2 separate regions of the Homo sapiens genome follow, and region 2 is linked to region 1. Evidence: promoter capture Hi-C in 16 types of primary human blood cells and fetal thymus (Javierre and others, 2016). All regions are on one chromosome and are shown on one strand. The core of a region is centred on a gene start or on the middle of the fragment in contact, and the rest is flanking DNA. Distances in the headings are between cores, read along the strand shown.

Region 1 (7,442 bases), core at 1,960-4,459:
GGTTGGAAGCTGTGCAGGAGACAAGAGTATTGCAAGAACCTACACTCTTGCTTCCCCTTATATTCCATCACTGCTCCCATGAATCCCTCAGACACAAAGACAAATGCCTCATGTAGTCAACACCTCTTGATTATTTTGTCTGAGAATAGTTGGGGCAGGTGGGCAGCTAAAAAATAAACACTAAGTTGTAACCACATATAAACAAACATGGAAAAGAGCATGAATTTTAAAAGGTATTTCCAACAAGAGAAATCTTATTTTCCCATTGACTTATACGGGGAATAACATCATCCTTAAGGTCATATCTATCCCCAGTGAAGAAATAATTTTGTTCCCAGAACAAGTCCAGTAGTATAAGGATCCCATAGACAGGTAATATATCAACATAACATTAGCACAGCCAGGATTAGTCACAAATAGTAAAAGGAAAATTACCTTCTCTATGAGCTCATTTGAGTTTAGCACACAATCAAAACATGAATAAGAAATATGAGTAGCCTACAGGCACATATAATTTTATACCCATATAGATGGGTATATAGATTAGGATAAAGGAAACTTGATGCAGTTATCTAGGCCTAGATGCAATACTTCTAATCACTCAAAAACTAGGTCATCCCAACATTCCAAGCTAGGACACAGAGGTGCACATCATCCTTAAAGTAGGATCAATGCTTGAGTATAGGATCCTGTTCTGCCTAGCAACCCTCACAACACCTTCCCACCTACGTGTTCCTCAAGCAAGGAGTCTTGGTGTTATCTTTGATTTCTTTTTCTCTCACAGCCTGGAGCTAATTTTTCAGGAATTCCCACTGGCACTTAAAAAATAGATATAAAATCTGATACATCTGATTTCTCTCCATATATATGATTAACACATTGATTTGGAAACACCATCTTCTCTCTGGATGCCTACAATAGCATCTGTAATCCTTTCTCTGCTTTCATCCTCATCATCTTGTGCTGTTCCCATTAAGTCAGAAGCAATATCTAAAAAACATATGTCAAATAATGTCAATTCACTGCTCAACCTTGGCTTTTATTCCGAGAGAAATTATGAACCTTTGCAAAGTGAAATCCTTACATGGCTGATATGGTTTGGCTCTGTGTCCACACCCAAATCTCCTCTCGAATTGTAATCCCCACATGTCAGAAGAGGGGACCTGGTGAGAGGTGATAGGATCATGGGGGCAGATTTCCCCCTTGATGTTCTGTTTAAAAGCGTATGGCCCCGCCCCCATTCCCTTTTTCCTGCTCCGCTGTGGTAAGACCTGCTTGCTTCCCCTTCATCTTCTGCCATGACTAAGTTTCCTGAGGCCTCCCAGCCATGCTTCTGTACAGCCTGCAGGAACTGTGAGTCAGTCAAACCTCTTTTCTCCATAAAAGTACCCAGTCTCAGGTAGTTCTTCATAGCAGTGTGAGAACAGACTGATACAAAGGCCTACAATGTTCTGTGTGATCACAGCTAACTGGAAAAAAAAAAAAAGAAAGCAGCACCCAGGTATGGGTAGGGCACATTATATTCACAGGATCAACAATAAGACTGATATTAATAGATACTTGACTTCAAAAAAAGCAAGTGAAGGCAGAATACAATTAATATACTAAAGTGGATGAAAGAAGAATTGCCCATTTAAAAACCTATTCAAATTGAAATAGAATTTTAGACAGAGGCCCGGGAGGTGAGTCATCTTTCACAAACAAAGATGACTAAGATAATTTTACAAATGAGCAAAAGTTGATGGAATGTGTCACTATATGGCCTGTAATAAAAGCAAAAATAAAAGTAGTTTTTCATGCAGAAAAAAAATGATCCAGATGGAAACATGAAAAACCTGGAGGGAATGAAGAACACCAAAACAAAGATGCATATGAATGTAAAAGAATCTAGATTTTACAAAAGAAAAGATAGGGTGGGGAGGATGTCAATGAATTAAACAGTCTAAGTGTTCCAATATTCCAGCAGTTATCTCCAGCATGGTTTGAGCCAATGGCCCCACTGCCCACTCCCCCACTCCATGTGCTTCTTATCCTGCTCCTATGATGTCAGGATTGCCCATTCAGAATGGAGTTGGGGGCAAATTAAGGTGCTTTGTTCACAAAAACACTGTCTATTCTATCTGGCTCTTGTCTGGCTTTTATCTGGCTTTTGCCATATTAGGTTTTGGTGAGGTGCTTTTCATACAGGCTGTATCCCCTTGGCCTAGCTGTACATTGTTAAAACTATGTAGGAATTCCACTTTATCCCAGCATCCCAAAAGATCAGACTTATCATGGAGGAGTGCTGAGTCCACACCCTTGAGGGCCAACTATTACAGAAGGGGAAGTTAGTTCCAGGGTACCTGTGTGGGAAGGGAGTGAGATGACTGAGTTACAGCGTTCTGAGATTGCTTTTAAAAATTATGGGGAATTAGGGTAGACAAAATCCATGGAGAACTCTAGTGAAAAGCATCTTCTCAGGTCCTTGAAAAATAGCACACATTAAGTCAGCTGTAGGTAGAAAGATCACTCTTTATCATTTATAGATGATTGGTAATTTCCTAATTATTAATAAGGAATCACATTCATAGTGGCCTCTTGTTTATCTACTTAGATCCTCCTATCCTTGTGAGTTAGAAAATATTGTAAAAGTTATCTCTACCTTAGAGATAAGAAAAATAGATCAGGGATCAGACAGGTGCCAGATCAAGTTCACGAGCTGGTTATTAATGCATATCTCAGGCCAATATGAAATATGAATGCAAAATAAAATGCCTAATGGATGACCTTGGCCTGGTCAGGCTGGACTCCCTGCCCTTTCAAGTCAGTTCTGACAGGAGTTGCCTGCAGTGTATATTTTCTGATGAGGCTGGCTTTCTTTGAAGACACTGTAAGGATAAAGAGTAAGGAGAGGCACAGCAAACACCAAGACACAAGCCAGCTCCACCTGAAAGTCTCACAGCCTCTGGCAAGTAGGGCATGACCCCTGGTAGGCACAACTCAGTGCCACTAGCTGGGGAGGAGGCATGGGTTGTAGGAAACAAGGATACAGTCCCCTTGGGTCAGGGGAAGTCCCCTTGCATCAACCCAGAGAGAGGAGGCCAGAGATGTCTCTGAGGACTCTGCTCAAGTGCAGCAGTTTCTGCTTCCACAGCCTTCTGGGAGAAGGGCAGAGGTTGGTGAGGATTAAAGCCAGCTGCTCGCTTCCCAGCTTCCTCCTTCTAAGACTCCTTAGACTGAAAGAGGAAGGCGGCACTGGTGCTGCATGAAGCTAATGAAAAGGGCCCAGGATTGTAAGTCAGACTGAGGACTGTGGATACAGCTGCAACTTAGGGAAATAGAAAACAAGTGATGTTATTGGGGTGAGCAGGAAGGTGGGAGTGAGCTGGAAGGTGGGGGCACTGTCAATTTCTTCCCATAGCCATTCCTGATCTTAGGCATCAGCTCTCCAACCCTGTTATTGCTTCTACTCTGGTCCTTCAATAGAGGGAACAGAAGTCTCGATAGTCCCACCCAACTGTTTGGTACACAAACTCCAGATGCTCTCCCCACCACAGAGGATGCCTGCTTCCGTCCTATGCCAAACACTGTGGGCCATCTCCAAGAAGTCTTAGTTGATTATTCCAGTTTGGATCTGTCACTTCTCACCTCCTGTCATTGCTTTTTCTAACCCCTGGCAAATGCCCCATCCCAGTTAAAGGGCTTCTGCATTAGTCAAGAGGAAGAAAACGAGGCCTGAACTAGAAAGATGGCAGGGAAAGGTAAGAAATACCTTATCTTTGAGGTTCTTCTACCAGAAGCAGTCCTGAAGTATCTTGATTATGTGATTATCCTTCCTTGTCTGGTTCTAAGTTTTTCAGATATGTCATTCTGATATCCTTTTAAGATAAAGGTATAGGCAACCAAATAGATTCAGTATTAATTGAGTCCATTCTGGGTACAGAGGCCTTTTTTAAGGAGAAATAGAAGATAAATCCTTTGAGCATGGACATCTTAGTTCTGAAAACAATGAACAGTCTGGACAAAACTTGCACTACAGAGGAGGTCTTAGTTTCTGGATATTAGGGGAAGAAGACTGGCTCCATTCACACTCCTACTCAGAGCACTTCATTCTGAGGAGTTGATTTTAGATGAACTTCAAAGGAAGTAAGATTTATGAACTATTAGACACCCTGTCTTTTCAGGAAGAAATCTGATAGAAGAGATGCCTTTTTTTCTTGTATGAAGATGGGTAGACAGCTCACAGGGTGGTTAGTGATGTTTAAAAGTTGAATGGAGGAATCTAGGGGGACATGGAGACTCAAAGTAAAACATGTGGGTTTTGTGGAAAATACATATTGAGATAAGGTAAAGATGCAGCAGGTTTGTGGGATTATTTCACAGTATTTTAGAAGAGTTTCTTAGACGCCAGGCATGTTTCTAGGTACTGATATGTACTTGAAAATAAAAATGTCTGTTGTCATAAGAGCTTGTTCCTGACAAAAATGCACAAACATTATGAATATTTAAAATAGTATTTTCCATTAAGAAGAGAATTTTATTCTGATGCAGGTAACAAAGTATTGTAATCGGGATGCTTAGAACCTCCATTCTGGATGCATTTTAAATGAGAAGATAACCCAAATTCTGAGCTTAAATCACATGAGGGGAGTAGTATTCTGAGAAATATGTCTTCCAATAATCTAGTAGTCTGTTTTATTTAGTGAAATGTTCCACACCTATGTATGTTAGAGGCTGGGTTTACAGAAGGAAAATAGGTAGAGTTTCTTAACTCCAGTCCCTTCACTTCATGATATGGTGGGTAATTGTTGAAGGATAAATATTGGAGAACAAAGTGGAACTTTGTGTACTTGTTAGGATTCTTTTGTAGCAGTAGTTGCTGGGAGATGCTGTGGCTTGAACAAGGGTGATGGTGTTGGAAGGGTGGAAGTGTTGGAAACGCAATGGGCAACGTGGAGATTTACTATGTAGGATGATCCAGTGTGCTTGCTGATGATTAAATATGATGCAGGAAGAAAAGAGAAGAATCCAGGATGACTTGATTCTAGGTTGAGCAACTGGTTGGGCAGGATGTTACGTTCTGAGATATGGGCAGCACAAGAAGAGAAGTAGTCATGATTTCTGCCTCAGGCATGGCAGGTTTGACATATCTGTGAGGAAGATATGTGGGGATATCGAGTATGGAGTTGGATATCCTAGTCTGGAGCTTACAAGGAATGTAAGGTATGTAAATTTGTGTTTGTTTCAGGATATGTTTATATTCTCAATGATCAACCAGCAGACCACCTAGAAAGATGCAATATTCACGGTCTTTTCAGGAGCAGTATTCTCTTTCTTCGTCTAAGTTTCAACTTTTCCCCTACTACTGGATAATTTGCTTCAGCTAAAGACATGATACTTCTGTTCTAAAACACACAGACACACACACACACACACACACACACACACACACACAGTTGACTTCGCTTTCCATTTTAGCCAGTGCCCTATTTACTTGCTGTCCTTTGCTTCCAAATTCCTCAAAAAAGTTAGCCATGTTAACAAACTTCAATTCCCCTCTTATCTATTCTAACTCAGTCAAGTCAGGCTTTGCCTGTCTCTCTTCTAGCAAAATTGCTTTTATCAAGGTATCCAATCCTCTTGTGCAATTCTAAACACAAGGCCAATTGTGTTTTCAAGTTCTTTGACTCATCAGTAGCATTTTACATGGTAATAATCCACTTGTTAGTAAACTATATTCTATATACTAAGATAGTACATTATTTGGGGATGTTTCTATCTTAATAGTTTCCACTGTCAGTTTCCCTTGCGAATATCTCAGTGTGCTCCAACTCTTCTCCCATCCATTCTTAATGTTGGGATTCAGTTCTGGGTTCTCTAGTTCTCTTTTCTGTGAACATTTACTGTCTGGGCGATCTCAAACAGTTTTGTGGCTTTAAATATGATTTATTTTCTATACGTATTACCATATTCACTTGAATTTCTGATATCTCAAACTCACCATGTTCAAAAATTGAAGTCTCGAGCTCCTCCTTTCATGCTTTCCCCGTCTCAGTTGGGAGCAGCTCCTATCAGTGGTTTATGCCAAAAATCAGGGTGTCATCTTCGACTCCCTGTTGTCTCACTTCCTATATCTAACCTGTCAAAAATGCCACTGACACATTTTAAAAATATATCCCCAATCCTATTACTTCCCACTACATACACTGCTACCTTGATTCTGAGCCAATGTTCTCCCTTCCTTGGATTCCTGCAATAGTCTCCAGGTACTTTCCCCCAATTCTACCCTTCCCTCTTTGTGCTATTCTCCATCATAGATGCCAGGGAAAACTTTAAAAGTATAAGTCACATACATCTCCTCTCTGCTGAAAACAATGTCCTTGATTCTGAGAGAAATGGGGAACTTTTGCAAAGTCCACAAAGGCCTGTGGGGCCCTGTGTGATTTGGCCCCACTGTTCTGACCTGATTCTCCTGCTCATTTGCTTCATCCTACCTGTGCTGGCTGCCTGCTGATATTTGAATAACAGGTGTTTTTATGTCTTGGGGCATTTTCTCTGGCTGTTCCATTTTCTTAGACTGTTCCTTTCCCCTGGGTGACTCCTATATTCCAAATCTATTATGGTCTTCTCATGTCCTGTCATCTCCCCTTTTTGTTGTAGGCATTGTTGTGGGAACCATTCGAGTGCAGGTGTAGGTTGATAGCACCTTACTCAGCTGTATCCCACCTCCCACAGTTTCTCTGCTTTATTGCATGGGCACCTCAGGGATCTCATTGTGTTATTCTGGTACATGTATGGACCTGAAAATGCAAGGAAATCTACACTCCTTGGGTCATCCTTGACCTATGGGGTGTGGAAGCCAGTGGATAAAAGTTCCCCTCTTCTGTGTCTAGAGTGGACAATTCTTTGGTTCCTTCTCTATGGTTCTTCATGTGGAATTGGATTATCCATCTCAGTAAGGCAACTTTGGATCCATATTCTCTTTCCTGTTCCACTCCTTCATCCTATTCTTGTTCACTGTGTAATTGTTCTGTATATACCACTGGCATGAAACTTTAGTTTGGCATTTAAGGAAGTGAAGCCAAGTATTTCCTCACCTCATTCAATTTTTCTCAAATTTTCTAATAAGGTGTATAATGAGCTTTTTATTTCAAATTTCAACTTCTCCTGCTCCCTATCATGAAATGCCTATCATAACTGCCCTATTCCTTGGTTTTTAAATCACAACAATGAAACTTTGTATAATATGTAATTTAATCATGATGTCCTTTTATTATCCTTCTCCAACCTTTAGCAAACTTATTCTACTAAGGGATCCATCTGTTTTGTTCATAAATTTTTCCTTAACCTCTTCAGTAAAAATGTTTAAATAGTTGTCATTAAATTTAGTTAGTATATTTTCTGAATGACATGGATATAAAATTTGAAAAGATGCTTGAGAACTGTAGAAATGTAATACTTAC
Region 2 (7,442 bases), core at 2,638-5,137, 70 kb before region 1:
TCATCACTGGTCATTAGAGGAATGCAAATCAAAACCCCAGTGAGATACCATCTCACTTAGAATGCTGATCATTAAAAAGTCAGGAAACAACAGATGCTGGAGAGGATGTGGAGAAACAGGAACGCTTTTACACTGTTGGTGGGAGTGTAAATTAGTGGAAGACAGTGTGGTGATTCCTCAAGGATCTAGAACCAGAAATACCATTTGACCCAGCAATCCCATTACTGGGTATATACTCAAAGGATTATAAATCATTCTACTATAAAGACACATGCACACATATGTTTATTGTGGCACTATTCACAATAGCAAAGACTTGGAACCAACCCAAATGCCCATCAGTAATAGACTGGAGAAAGAAAATGTGGCACATATACACCGAGGAATACTATGCAGCCATAAAAAAGGATGAGTTCATGTTCTTTGCAGGGACATGGATGAAGCTGGAAACCATCATTCTCGGCAAACTAACACAGGAACAGAAAACCAAACACCACATGTTCTCACTCATCAGTGGGAGTTGAACAAGGAGAACACATGGCAACAGGGAGGGAAACATCAATACAGGGGCCTGTCTGGGGGTGAGGGGCTAGGGGAGGGATAGCATTAGGAGAAAAACCTAATGTAGATGATGGGTTGATGGGTGCAGCAAACCACCATGGCATATGTATACCTATGTAACAAACCTGCATGGTCTACACATGTATCCCAGAACTTAAAATAAAGTATAATAAAAAAGATGCTGAAACAGTGAAAAATAAGGCCCACTGTTTTGTATATAACATGTCACTTAAACCGCTCCAGATTGTTTTAGTATCTCAATTTTATAGAGTGGAAACTGATACTTTTAGAGGCTCAGTATCTATTCTGGGGCCACTTGGCTAATAAGGAGTTTTAGTTCTGTCTGATTTCATATCCAGTTAACTACAATGCTGGCAAGACTTTTATGTCTATATATTTAAGGCTAACACATCCTCAAAGTCTCCAATACCATCCTCTCTTACACAAAGTCTTATTTCTCTGTTATTGGCTAGGGTGTAGTGTAATGTAGCAATTCAGTTTTCACATATGGTTTACTGTGTTTTAGGGTCATAGCTGCTTGAGAACAGAATTGGTACCTGGTTAACCTCTAAGTAAAGCACAGTGCATAAAGAAACCCCAATTTTGTGAACCACTGAAAAGACTATTGAAAATGTAGATTTTAGAATGAAGAAAACACACTGGGACTGCAGTGAAACAGAGAGAACTGCAGAGTTCCAGGACATCTGTAACTGAGCCTTTCACCTGTAGGCTACCCTCTCTATGTTGGAGATTGAGGACGAGGGGATGGCTGAAGTGGGTGAATGGCAGTAGTCTCCATACGAGCAGATAGAATTGATCTTGTGTTTCACCTGTCTACTTCCATTTATCATTTTCTCTCATATCCCAGATGTGACAGACAATCTGACTGTGGCCACATTTATTAGTTTTAAGGCAAATGAAGGATTCTAGAGACAGGCTGTAGAGAAGCTAAAGAAAATATTTCATCAGAGAGAAGTTAAATACTTCTGAAGTATTTCAGCAAAATACACATACAAATCCTTTAAAAATTTCTTATTAACTTTAGAGACTGAAACTTGTTAAGAACCTGTGAAATTTCTGACTTAAATTTCAATGCATGAACATAGGATGTGTGACAGATACGAGAATGCCTGTATTGGGTTGCAGCCCACGGAGGTCTGAGATTGGTCTCCAGGTTGGAAGGACAACTTGGATGATCTCAGGAACTAAGGGACTTGAGCAGACTGAACTTTGAAATTTTCTCTTCCCTAATCTCCAGGACACACTGGGACCTGCAGTGAAACAAAGGACATCTGTAGCAAAGCCTTTCAACTCTAGATTGTCCTCTCCATCCTAGAAATGGAGGAGGAAGTGATAGCTGAAGTTGGTTAATTAAATGCTCTGATCTTCTGTAAAATACCTAGCCAGTGTTCTTCAAGACTCTCAAGGTCATGGAAACCTTGGAAAAACTGAGAAACTTCCATCTCAGACCAGAGGACACTAAGGAGAAATAATGAGTAAATGCAATTTGATATCCTGGATTGGATCCTGGAACAGAAGAAAGACATTGGAAAAGCAGGTGAAATCCAAATAAAGTGTGGACTTTAGTTAATAGCGATGTACCAATATTAGTCCTTTGGTTTTGACTAATGTACTATGGTTCTGTAAGATGTTAACATTAAGGAAAATGGGTGAAGGACATTCAGAAACTCCGTAAACTATATTTGTAACTTTTTTGTAAATCTAAAATTATTCCAGAATAAAACTTATTAAAAAAAAAACAAAAACAAGCTCTGACCATGAATTGTGGGGGAGGGTTAGTATGACATGCTGGCCATAGAGGAATCCAGACAGGTTATTGAACCAGTTCTCAGTTTCCTATTGGAGAGGAAGTTATGTGTGGAGCTTGCAAGCTTTTTTTTTTTTTTGCACCCTTTGTATATTCTAATATAATACTAACAATGATCTCATGAAATAACCATCATCCCTAGTTTATGAATAAAGAATAAGAGGCTCAAGGAGATAATTTGCTCACAGTTGACAAGTGACAGATTCTGAAATAGATCGTGGCTTTTTCACTATATTATGCTTGATAAATAATCTCCAAAGGTGTTACTGGGAGAAAGGGATATTGCTTTATCAATATAGATTTTCAGTCACCTACATTCTCTAGGTACAGGCATAAAGTTAGACAGAGAAGCTCTTTTCTCTTCGCTAACTTGCTCTTGTGTTTAAAGCACTCATGCACATCTCTTTGGCTACACTGCCTGATATCTCTTTGGCAGAATTTGAAAAGAGCCTGTGTTCATTCTTTCTAGAAGCAGGAATTACTCATGGCCTCTGTTATCCCTAAAGGACAGAGTGTGTCTCAGTCTCTAACCATCCTCTTTCCCCCAACTAGCCTCCATTTGCCACCAGGCAATTCATAGCCTGGCTCTTTGGAAAGAGGAGGTACGCAGTATGGGACATCTTTTTTTTTTTTTTTTTTTTTTTTTTTGAGACAGAGTCTCGCTCTGTCACCCAGGCTGGAGTGCAGTGGCACAATCTTGGCTCACTGCAAGCTCTGCCTCCCGGGTTCACGCCATTCTCCTGCCTCAGCCTCCCAAGTAGCTGGGACTACAGGCACCTGCCACCACGCCTGGCTAATTTTTTCTATTTTTAGTAGAGACGGGGTTTCACTGTGTTAGCCAGCATGGCCTCGATATCCTGACATTGTGATCTGCCCGCCTCAGCCTCCCAAAGTGCTGGGATTACAGGTGTGAGCCACTGCCTCCAGCCATGGGACATCTTAATATCCTTCTGGTGCCCTCTAAGAAAAATCCTCAGGTGTGAATCATTAGGATACACTGCCTGATGCATCCTTCCATGTCCCAGAGCTGCCTGGCTCAGAACTCAGGGGGTTCAGGAAGTTAAATTGTGGAAATCTCTTGGATTTGCACCTGGATCCCAGCAGACCTGTTATTTCCCTACCTCCATCAAGAGGATTATAAAGTGTTGACTTTTACTGACACAGCAAGAATTACTTTCACAGAGAAACAGATGAGAGGAGATACAAGCTCTGGAGGTGTGGTAAGTTCAGGGGCTAGAGTGTCAAATCTGGGGTCTGGGCTGGGGAGCCTGAGCTCTGAGGCCTTGGACCACTGGCCTGAATGGAATCTGTTTAGGGTGGGCAGCTTCGGGTCCTTCCATAACCTGAGAAGAGAGAGTTACTTAAGGCCTTTACTGATCCTCCTTCTTATAAAATAATGAGTTTGGGTGGGTATTTGTGATGGACTGTTATCACAACATTACCTTTTTTGGGCTGGACTATTCCTTGATGATCCAGGAACATGGTCATCTCATGATTAAAGGCAACGATGTTCCTCTTCAATCCTCAACCAACTGGTCAAATATGAGAAAAACAATGTATCTATGGTCCTCCAGGTTCATCTGCGGTGGCTGCTCGTAGCATAGGCTGAATTTGATAGGTGTCCTGAATCCTACTGTGGGACTTCTGCTTGTGGGACAGAAACAGGCCTACAGTATGGACTCTGCCTCAACCTTGGGTCTAGCTGCTTTGATGAAACCTCCCCTTCGATGACATATTCTGACTAGTTTGAGGAGGGACAGAGGGGAGCCACCCTCCATCTTATCCTAGGCTAACTCAAGTCAGAAGGCTGTCAGCTATGTAATAGCTGATCATTGTTACCACTTATTCAGGTCTTAGGATTTCTTCATGAGCTCCTTTAACCTCACCGCCACTCAATGACAGAAGTTCTCTTATTTCCCTCAGGACAAGAACACAGGACATAGAAGAGTTAATAAATTTGCCCACCGTCTTACAATTAATAAGTAGTAAAGCCAGGATTTAAACTCAGACAGTTTGGGTCTAGAGCACACACTTCTAACCCTGTGCTGCCTACCTAGGATAAAATATATAAAATATACCAACCTGTCCCAACCTTTGAAATGCCAATATGAGATGCATGCTTTTAATAAACTACACATTATTTGTGCTATTAAAAATATTCAAGGAAGTTAAAGAGAGATTACATTTGCAAATATCTCAGCAGCTAATAGATAGATTAGCAGTATCTGTACTCTGGAGGGAAGATGACAGAAGGCCAGGTTACAAAAATTCACAGGAGCCAGTGATTTACATACAAAGGCCTCTGTACGAGGCTGAGTCTATTTATCTATCTATCTATCCATCCATCCACCCATCTGTCACTTAAAATTTAATGTCTTTCAATACTAGAGATATTCCTGATCCACTCCAGACCCTGGCTTCACCAGTTAAATTTAATCAAGGATTTTGGTTGCCAACTATGAAAGTGAGACAATATTTCTATGGTCAGATTTAAAGAGGATCTACTGTTTAAAAATATTTAAAGAGATTAAAGCACAGAATTTAACAAAATAGGTTCAGATTTATTTAATAATGATTTTTTTTCTATATGGATCTTAATTCTATACATAAACTAAAACCCTTGGAGAAGCTCCAGTTTTATTTTAGTCAGATCTCACTGCGATTTCATTGATAGCTTTCAGGATCCAAGTCCTGTGTTAAAACCCAATGGCAACTCCTTAGTATTTCTCAGTTTTTAAATGGTGTGGGGAGGAAGGAGCTGTGGAGAAAAGGAACCTTCCCCACACATCCTGCGTTCATCCCTATGACATAAAGCTGTCTGTTTGAAGCAACATGGGTGGAGGGGGTCTGAGTTGTTCTGGAGGGAGCTGGGGACCCTGTGGAGAGCTTGTGACTTCCTGGATACAGGTACTTGGCCTGGGCAGGTTTATGCTAAGCTTATTTCTGAGCAGAGCAGGATTAGACCTAATTTTGGCTAACGCACAACAGCGTCATGGGCTTGGGGAAAATGTGGGCTCCCAGCTCCTGACAGTCTTAGCTAGGCTAGGGATGCAGTTCTAGGGCCCATTTTTCTGTAACTTTCTTCTTGGCCCCAGGACTCAGCTGGCAAGGCCAGAGGCTTAAAAGCCTCACATTCCCTTGAGTACTGGTTGCCATAGAAAGCTTCTTGGTGGAGGAGGGTCCCCAACCTTCTCTAATCTGGGTCATCTCCTTGTAGTGACTCCTATCTTGGCTCTTGGGGATAGATTTCACCTGATTAGAGAAAGAAATAGTCTTTGCACTATTCATGGTCTTTTGGAAACTGGATGAGTAAGATGGTACAGGGGCAGAGACTGTAGTTTAATTTTATTCCATCTCCTTAGAGGGGTCTGTTTAGTCTATCTATCTACCTATCACCCACCTACCTATCATGCAACTACTTAGCTACCATCCATCTACCTATCCATCCATCAATCTATCTATTGATCCATCTATCAATCTATTCATCATCCATGTATCCTCTATCTCCATCTATCTCCATTGTTTTTTCTTTCCACAGTTTATCATGTTTTTCTATTGTTCTCTCAGGAGATTACAGCTTTGAGGAGAATTTTTTCTTCCTAAGCTATGAGTCTTTAATTAAACTCACACAGTATGCAACACAGGGACGGTCAATAAGCACATGGGCCCGTTACAGTCTTAGGACTTTTCTCTGGGGACCCTCAAGGACAGATGCATGTAAGTGGTCAGGGAGGAGGCAGGAGTGGTATAGGAGAACATCTTGTAAATACTTCTTCCTATTTCATCTTGCTTAGGGATGGATATTTTCAGCATTAACAACGTTAATAATCATCATAACTAACAGAAAGCAGCAGTATTACACAATGCCCTGACCTTGATAATTGCTCCAATGTATAATAATTAGACTGTGGTGTGACTTGTGTTTGATGGAGACATGCACTGAACCCAGCTTGGGGACACTGGAGGATGCCGACAGGTAAATGACTCCCTCTAGGAACACTTCCTTAGCCAGTTGTATCCCCACAGTTTACTCAGAAGACATGTCTGAAGGACAGGTGCAGAAGAGGGAATGATGGAATTTTGATATTGTCCAATGGCTTATCTTTCCTTTATAAACAAGTGCCCTGAAGGAGTCTTAGACTTTCACTGAATATAAAAGTGAAGCGAACTAATACTGTGATGAATACACTAAGTGTTAGGCATTATGTGAGGCCTGTAACTACAGGATTAAGCTGGTTCATGCACAAAGCTATTGAAAACAGACTCAGGAAATAGAAACCTGTCAAGGTTATATAACTTTCATAAAATGGCAATTAGAAAGTGGCCCAGCCACTTAAACACATAAAATGTACAGTGGTTATTCAGAATAGAGAACACATACAAGCAATATGAAAAATGCAGGCGACCCAATAGAAAAATGAGTAAAAGACTGAAAACTTCCTAAAAGAATATATTCAAATAGTAAACATATGGAAAGCTGCTTACTTTATTAGAAATCAAGGAAATATACGTTAAAACCACAAGAAAATACCATTACACACCCATAGAATAGCTGTAATTAAAAAGACCAACCAAAGTATTGATGAGGATGTGGAATAATCAAACTCTCCTACAGTGTTGGTGTGGGTATAAATTGGTAAATCACTTTTGAAAGCTGTTTGGAAGAATATGTGAAAGCTGAATGTATGCATAGCTTATGATAAATCAATTTCATTCCTAGGTAATACTCAACAGAACTGCAAACGCATTCATAAAAGATATATATTTGAGTGTTCACAGCAACACTATTTATAATAGTTCCACACTTGAAATGACCTAAATATCTATTAATGATAGAATGGATAAATATATAGTGGTATATTCATCCAAGGAAAAATTATGCAGCAATGGGAATGAATACATTATAGCTATATGAAGCAATATGGATGAATCTCACAGACAAAGTTTAGTGAATGACAAATGAGTACCTACTCTATGGTTCTAATTATAGAAAGTTCAAAAATAGGCAAAGTTAATCTGTGGGATTAAATAGTGATTATCACTGAGGGGATAG

The links. The method cuts DNA at HindIII sites, captures the fragments that hold promoters and counts their contacts. A CHiCAGO score of 5 or more calls a contact.
Region 2: a contact is called between a fragment that was not itself captured here and the fragment with the promoter of OR52K1 in region 1, in 1 of 17 cell types (monocytes). The highest score is 6.3, in monocytes.

The regions. Positions count from the first base shown.
Region 1 is chr11:4,479,437-4,486,878 of GRCh38, forward strand. It overlaps OR52K1 (olfactory receptor family 52 subfamily K member 1), which reads left to right and starts at 3,210. Exons shown (of 2, transcript NM_001005171.3): 1 at 3,210-3,740. The HindIII fragment of the contact is 19,878 bases long and covers 1-7,442 here.
Region 2 is chr11:4,408,580-4,416,021 of GRCh38, forward strand. No RefSeq gene overlaps it. Among named protein-coding and RNA genes, the nearest start is that of TRIM21, 19 kb to the left of the region's middle. The HindIII fragment of the contact is 2,872 bases long and covers 2,452-5,323 here.